Regions from separate parts of the Homo sapiens genome. Here region 2 is linked to region 1. The links are contacts of gene promoters, found by promoter capture Hi-C in human tissues and cell types (Jung and others, 2019). All regions are on one chromosome and are shown on one strand. Each heading gives the region's core, a stretch centred on a gene start or on the middle of the fragment in contact. The rest is flanking DNA. Distances are from core to core; before and after follow the strand shown. Region 1 holds the start of REEP2 (receptor accessory protein 2). Region 2 overlaps KDM3B (lysine demethylase 3B).

The links. Contacts are between HindIII fragments. The study calls those that stand out against the background at their distance.
Region 2: a fragment that was not itself captured here is called in contact with the fragment with the promoter of REEP2 in region 1 in 1 of the 25 tissues and cell types used here (bladder).

What each region holds. Positions count from the first base shown.
Region 1 is chr5:138,436,568-138,440,696 of GRCh38, reverse strand. REEP2 (receptor accessory protein 2) reads right to left here and starts at 1,640. Exons shown (of 8, transcript NM_001271803.2): 1 at 1,457-1,640. The coding sequence starts at 1,488. It overlaps KDM3B (lysine demethylase 3B), which reads right to left. Exons shown (of 24, transcript NM_016604.4): 24 at 3,670-4,129. RefSeq lists an enhancer at 474-1,007 and a silencer at 1,393-1,812. The HindIII fragment of the contact is 10,254 bases long and covers 1-2,312 here.
Region 2 is chr5:138,387,832-138,391,593 of GRCh38, reverse strand. It overlaps KDM3B (lysine demethylase 3B), which reads right to left. Exons shown (of 24, transcript NM_016604.4): 8 at 1-581. Among named protein-coding and RNA genes, the nearest start is that of KDM3B, 37 kb to the right of the region's middle. The HindIII fragment of the contact is 4,652 bases long and covers 1-3,727 here.

The DNA of each region.
Region 1 (4,129 bases), core at 391-2,890:
GGTCACTGCCACAGGGTGTCTTCCTTCTTGACCTCATGCCCATTCACACCCATCTGCCCTTACCCTCCACCTCCCTCAGAGCCAGGCTCTGCGAGGGAACCTGACACCACCTAACAGGGCACCCTACCTGGCAGGCAGAGGTACCACTGTGGCCCTGGGGCCCTAGGGAACAGAGGGCACAGGGGCAGGAGGCCCTGAGAGAGGCAAAGAGGCTTATTCCCCCATGTAAACACCACAGGGACAGGGCTCAGGGGAGGGCCCCGCTGGTGATCCAAGTACAGAATGCAGACAAGACACAGGCCGGGAAAGAAGAGGACCGATGCCCTTTGGGGCTTGCCCAGGCAAGAGAGAAGCAGCCACCCTGAAGGCCACATGGAGGCGTGAGGCCCCTCCATTCCCCCTGGGATGGGTGGGGGAAGAGAAGGAGTCTAGAGTAAACCAGGACAGAAGCACTTGGCCGGCCCGGCTGTACCGAATGGGAAGAAGGGAGCAGGGTGGGGCTGCCGGTGTCAGTCCCCAACGGTGGAGGCCGAGGGGCAGTGTCCTCATTAGGGCAGGGGATAGCTCCGAGAACCACGAGGAGCCCCTGTCAGGCTCAGCCCCTTGACAATGTGTGGCTGTCGCCTGTTTCCACATGGACAGGAGGGATACTTCCAAACCGGCTGGTGCAAGTGGAGTGCGGAGCAGAATCCTCAAGGACAAAGTCTGGGCTCGTGGGGAATGGTGTGTGTTCCCTCCTGGGGCCCGGGGAGGTGCCAGAGACACAGCTCCACAGTGTGGCTGGCAGCCTGGAATGAAGGCCACGGAGCGTCCTCCCCCAGCGGGGTCCACAATCCCAGGCTGAGCACACACATCCCCTCTCCCAGTTACCTCTCACACTTTGTCCTCCGAGCATTTCTGCTTCCCGATACCCAGACTTCCTCCCTAGGGGGCCTAAGGGCATATGCCCTCGTCCCCAGTCTCCTGACAGTGAGTGGAAGGGAGAGACCAAGGGGCCTGGTGATGGCTCTGAGCTGCGGAATGATGATGAGGCCCTGCCTTGCTCCACTCTCTTCCATCACCCTGTTACCTCCCCCAGAGGGACAGGGCCCGGGTCTGAGGATCTCCTCCAGCCCAGACCTGCTAGGTGGGGGAGGGGACGCGCCTGCCTCCCCTTTTAAATCAAGCCGTGCTGCTCAGCCTCTAGGATGGGCGCAGGAGCAAGGACGGTAGAAATAAAAGAGGTTATTAATAAAGAATGTGGGTGAGGTCCCTGGGAAGCCAGGCCTGCCACGCTCCCCTAATATTCCCCCCTCCAGTCCTGGGTGCCACATCTCCATGTCTCTGGGGGCCCCAAATAAGGACGCAGCGCCTTTAGGTGACTCTGCTGCACGAAGCTTCGGAGAAGTCCACCCGGGCTTTAACACCCCCGCCCTCCATCACAGCCCGCATCACCCCCCGCCGCCGCCGCACTCACACCACCAGGCGAGAGATGATCCAGGACACCATGGCGGGGCCGGGCGCGGCGCGGGGCGGGGACCCGGCCCGGCCGAGGATGCAGCTGCCTGAGGCCGAGCGGCGGCGGCGGCGGCAGCAGGAGCCGCAGTAGCAGCAGCAGCCGCTGCAGCAGCCGCCGCGGGGGCAGCGGAGCGCCCAGCGCCGCCGTTAAAGGGGAGGTCCCTGCCGCAGCGGCGGGCCGTGGGCGGTGGCGGCTCTTAAAGGGGAGGCCGGGAGGCCGCCGCGGCGGCGGCGGCGCGCCCCCGCCCCGGCACCTGCTGTGGCCGGGCATGCGCCTCCGACCCTCAGTGCCCTGCCTTCCTCGAATCGCTTGTTCATCTTTCTTGGGTTTCAAGCCCTAGGCTGTTGTCGTGGAGGTCTCCATGGTTACATCCTGAAATCGACCCCTGCCCACCTCCTGCCCTGCCCACACCAGGCGCTTACTGTGTGCCAGCCCCTGTGCTAAGAGCTTCACTGCGTTGCCAGTGAATCCTCTTGACCACCCTATAAGGCAGGCGCTATAAAAGCCCTCATTTTGAAGATAAGGGAATGAGAAGCTTAAGGCTCAATAATCTGTTGAGAGTCACAAAGCCACCAAGTCATGCTGCTAAGATGACCCCAGGAAGCCTACTTTAAACAGGTTACATCCCCCAACTGCTGACTAGCAAACTCTCCTCATTACAGGCCCTGAAGACATCCACCTGAGCTCCTGAGTCACAGGTACAGCCGCACCTGTCCACCCCACTCCTTCTCACCCCGTTGAAAGAGGATCTCCCCTGACCAGATGATGTTTTGTTTTTTTGAGACAGGTCCTCACTCTGTCGCTCAGGCTGGAGTGCAGTGGCACAATCTCAGCACACCTCCTGGGCTTGAATGATCCTCCCGCCTCAGCCTCCCGAGTAGCTGGGACTACAGGCCCAAAACACCACCAGCTAATTCCTGTTTTTTTGTTTTTTGTTTTTTTTTGCCAAGATGGGGTTTTGCAATATTGCCCAGGCTGATCTCCAACTCCTGAGCTCAAGCGATCCACCCGCCTCAGCCTCCCAAAGTGCTGGGATCACTGGTGTGAGCCACCGGGCTGCTGGTCTGCTTTTTTAGGTTGTCAGCTCCTAAGCTTTGCAGCGGAACAGAGCTTTATGCTCTCAATGTGGTTACTGACAACAAAGGGTCAACCTTCTTTTCAAACAGAGGGGCTGCGAGAGGGTCCTGGGGCTCCAGTTCCACCCCCATCAGCAAGCACTAGTGGCAGTGAATGTCCTGATTCTAAAGACATTTATATCCAGAATGTAGGCTAGCCTGCCTCCTGATCTTCAGGAAAGCAACCAACCTCCAACCATCCACCAACACCCCCAGCCCTATTGCTCTCCTTTCCTGTCCCATTTTAGAGCTTCTGCATTCCTCTACCCTTTATGTTGAGTTGTAATCCTTCGGGTGACCACAGCATCAACCTGTGCCCATCTGGGCTGAAAGGACACATTCAGAACTGTGTATTTCAAAGAGTCATGGTCTTATTCAAGCTCAGTATCCCTGAACAACACAATGGTCTATTTCTAACCTGGTAAATTATATTTCCAGGTTCAAACACTTTGGAAGATGTTTCCCAAAACGTTCCAGAAAAGCAGCCTCTGATAACCCCTCTTGCTATTCTTTACAACTTCCTCTCCAGAAAACATCTCCTAATTGGAATGCAGTCTGTTATCACCCCACAATGAAACACTTTAATTACTGCTTGATAAATCCCACATGAGTGTCTCCCACCATCTCTAAGGTGGATCTATGGCCACACGTTTCATGTAGGCAGCCAGGCTGCCTGCTTAAGAATCCCACCACAGACTGTCCAACTTTGCTGAGGCCACACACCATGACCCTTCCCCCCAGACTCTGCCACAGGAAGGGAGGACCCCAACTTTCCCACTCCATTCACAAAGCATAAAGTATGGGGAAACATGTCTCTCTTTCTACCCTCTAATTCATGTGGCCCCTTCCCCTTACCCCCAATTCCCCAAACCATACTGACCTCACCCTGGCACTTTCCTTTTTTCTAACATGGCACAGTCTCAACAAGCAAAGAAAAATATCTGGGTGTAGCACAGTCATGAAGACCTGGAAATGAATCCCCCACCTCCAACCCAACTCCCAATCTGATGTTGATTTTAGAAGGGTTGGTACACGAATAATTTAGTCCACTCCAAACAGATTTGTTAGATTTTTAATAAGAACATGGAAATCCCAATCAGCCCTTCAACAAAATTAAAATACAGAAAGTGAAATTAAAAGTATTCTACATTAAATGACTTTTATTTAAAAAAAAAAAAAAAAGTAACTGTGAACATATAAACAGCCTGCAGGGCACTACAGTACAGCTGGAGAGATATACATTTTCCAATGTACCTATGGGCCAATGAATCCCACCATTTTCAAATAAATCCTTAATCAGACTCCACTCAGTTGGAAAGTTTTGCTGAAAATATTTCTGGATAAAAAACAAAAAACCTCATGTTGGAAATCAACTGTCCTTCCCATTTGGAAACATTAAGAGGAGTCCCCAGGGAACACTGGTAATAGGTGAAAATGGTTCCTGGAGTCACCAGTGTTGTACACACACATGGGGAACACACCACAGCTTAGATGTGACAAAGTTCCTTCTCATATG
Region 2 (3,762 bases), core at 152-2,651, 49 kb after region 1:
GATGCAAAACTACTGAAAGGGCTGTGTTCAACTTTCTCCACAAATGCCAGGAAAGGATTAGAAGGCTCTTCTCGGGACAATTTGGGGGGCTGTAAAAATAGATTTTCATGATTCTCTGGGGTACGGGCATTTAGGAGGCTCCGTGGGAAGGCTGGAGTGAGGGTGGGCATGGACTCTGCAGGCACTTTCCGGTCCACAGAGCTGCCAGCCTTAGAGCCTGGCTTAGTGTCTGTTCCAAGAACGGATCTGCCTTTACACAGGCCTGAGCTCAGGCTCTCAAGGCTTTGTTTGAATGAGTCCCGACTAGAAGAATCATCAGCCAAACTCTCTGAAACAGTAGTGAAGTAGTTACTGGTAGGTAAAGTTTGGGACATGCATTGAAAAAACAAGTTTTTGGAGAGATCAGTGTCTTTCTGTGCCTCTTGTGCAGAGCTACAGCCAAAAGAGAAGCCCAAAGGTTTGTTCTCTGTGGCTAGAACACCATTGGACTGGCTCCTTCCACTTCCAAAAGTCAAAGGTTGCGATGAACTAGGGAGAGGTGCTCCAAATCCAGAAGAGGCCAGAATAGAATTTCTTGAATTCTGAAAGGAAGATAGCCTGAATTAGTGATGCTGGCTTCTCATGACAATCTAATGATCTCTTTCTTGGACCTCACTATCACCAGATCAACATTTCTTGGGGGTCCATCAACTTTTCTCTTTTACAATTCCATGGATCTGCTCTTGTAACTGGAGTTCACCAGCAGTGGGGAAGAAATCTGCCACAGACTACACTGAGGGCATCTTTAGCAAGGTGAACCAGAGATAGCAGGATGTCATTCATCCTGCAATTCCCTTGGTTGTTATCCAATTGGTCGTCACAGTGCTAGAAGGCCTTGTAGGCTTTTTGGTATCTATTTGGAAGTGAAGAGCTCCTCTAAGGAACTGGAGAAAAGGGTTCCTGAATAGACATCAGCTTTTACAGTGACCCCTGTAATATTAATATATCTCAATGACCTTGGGAGCTATTGTTAAAGTTTTGATTTATTTAGGCTACTGTAAAATTGCCCATTTTACAAAAAGTGGCTTTAATCCTAGGACAAGCCTACTGCACGTTAAAGAAAAGTGTTTTCCTTATTAATCTGAAAGTCCACAACATGGACCCTTTTGGATTTCGGCATCTATTTATGGGTTCAAGTCAACCTACAAGTTGAATATCTACTTCAATTAACGTTAGACGTAAAGATGCTAAATTAAAGAAAGCAAGCTATTTACCAAGACCTTTGTTATAATTAGAATCTAATAAGAATCCAAAGAGGATAAATGTATATACTGACAATATCCCAAAAAAAGCCTTCAGCATAACTGAAGAATGAAATAACAGAACACTCCCCTTTCCTTCTTTTACCTTCAAAATGTTAACTTCTGCTTGTGAATGACTGTATAAAGAAGAATGGGGCCTGGCGCGGTGGCTCATGCCTGTAATCCCAGTACTTTGGGAGGCTGACATGGGCGGATCACGAGGTCTGGAGGTCAAGACCATCCTGGCCAACACGGTGAAACCCTGTCTCTACTAAAAATACAAAAAATGAGCCGGGCATGGTGGCACGTGCCTGTAGTCCCAGCTACTCGGAAGGCTGAGGCAGGAGAATTGCTTGAACCCAGGAGGCGGAGGTTGCAGTGAGCCCAGATCGTGCCACTGCACTCCAGCCTGGCAACAGAGCAAGATTCCCTCACAAAAACAAAAAAAAGGAAGGACTTTCCTATATATTAATGTACCCAGATACAGACAAGAGAAAGGGACACACACACACACACACACACACACACACAGAGAGAGAGAGAGAGAGAGAAGAGACCCATAGGTAGGTATGAGCCCAAACTTATATTTATTAATTTAATAAAACCCAGATCCTAGTACTTGACTTGCTAACCATAGATTACTTTCAAGTAGTAGAGGATGATATACCTTAATATTCACTCTAAAACACTGGAAATAAAAATTATTCCATCACCACTTAATGGATATGGAGTTTTCCTTTTGGGGTGATGAAATTTCTGGATCTAGATAGTCTTCATAGTTTCGCAACACTGTAAATGTACTAAATGCCACAGAATTGTACATTTTAAAGTCGTAAGTTTTACATTATGTGTATTTTACTACAATTAAAAAAAAAGTGATTCCCGATAAACAAAAGGGCTATTCTCTTATAAAGAGGGGAGAGAGTTTTAATTAAACTATTCTTTAAATACACAAGAGGAGTTAACATTCAGGATTTCCTTGAGGAGTAGCATAGAGACGTACGAATCAAGCAGGCCACCTAGGCTTGCCTCTGTCTCTGCTACAGAGACTACTTCAGGGTATTTTAGAGTTAAAAAATAAAACTCCTTTTCTTTTTTCTTTTATCTTCCTACTAACCAGTAAGTATTGACTTCAACTTACTCCCTACAATAGAGAAAAAGAACAGACACAGCCCTGAGGTGCTGCTGTTGCTTCACAGGCAGGATTTGGCCAGGAGCCTTGATACCTGCATGACTGCAAGGAACTAGCATGGGTAGCTCATGTTTCACTCCTAAAGTTACCCTTTAAAAATAAATACACACATGAATGAAAAATAATTTGGATAGTCTTTCATTTTCCTTCAAATGATTAAATTCCAAATCCTTTTCTTATAAAAAGGTGATGAGAAACTCATGTCAAGCCAGTTTTTAGGGCAAGAAGTTTCCTGTTGGCTCTGTCTTTATTTTAGATCAGCCATTGTAATGAAAACATTCATTTCTACACATTTATTTATTTATTTTTTGAGACGGAGTCTCGCTCTGTCACCCAAGCTGGAGTGCAGTGGCGCAATCTTGGCTCACTGCAATCTCCGCCTCCCAGGTTCAAGTGATTCTCCTGCCTCAGCCTCCTGGGTAGCTAGGATTACAGACACATGCCACCAAGCCCAGCCTTTTTTTTTTTTTTTTTTTTTTTAAAGACGGAGTCTCGCTCTGTTGCCCAGGCTGGAGTGCAGTGGCACAATCTTGGCTCTCTTGGCTCACTGCAAGCTCTGCCTCCCGGGTTCACGCCATTCTCCTGCCTCAGCCTCCCGAGTAGCTGAGACTACAGGCGCTTGCCACCACGCCCAGCTAATTTTTTGTATTTTTAGTAGAGACGGGGTTTCACCGTGTTAGCCAGGATGGTCTCGATCTCCTGACCTCGTGATCCGCCCGCCTCGGCCTCCCAAAGTGCTAGGATTACAGGCATGAGCTGTACTATGCCTGGCTCATTTCTATACTTTTAAATCATATCCTAGAAGAAGAACCAAACAGAAACACAGCAACATGACTGTCATAGTCACAGAAATTCCCTCAACCTGTTTAAAAGAAAATACTCTTTCAATCTGAATTTCATATATTCAGCTTTGCTACTCTAAGAGTAGCAGCATTCAATGGATCTCTTTTATAGCATGTAAAACCTGGTCTATTTTGTAAGCTCCATTTACATTCACACTGCCTTTGACATGGAGTTGTTTTTGTTTTGTTTTGTTTTTTTGAGACATAGTCTTGCTCTGTCGCCCAGGCTGGAGTGCAGTGGCACAATCTCGGCTCACTGCAAGCTCCACCTCCCAGGTTCACGCCATCCTCCTGCCTCAGCCTCCCGAGTAGCTGGGACTACAGGTGCACGCCGCCACGCCCGGCTAATTTTTTGTATTTTTAGTAGAGATGGGGTTTCACCGTGTTAGCCAGGATGGTCTTGATCTCCTGACCTTGTGATCCGCCCGCCTTGGCCTCCCAAAGTGCT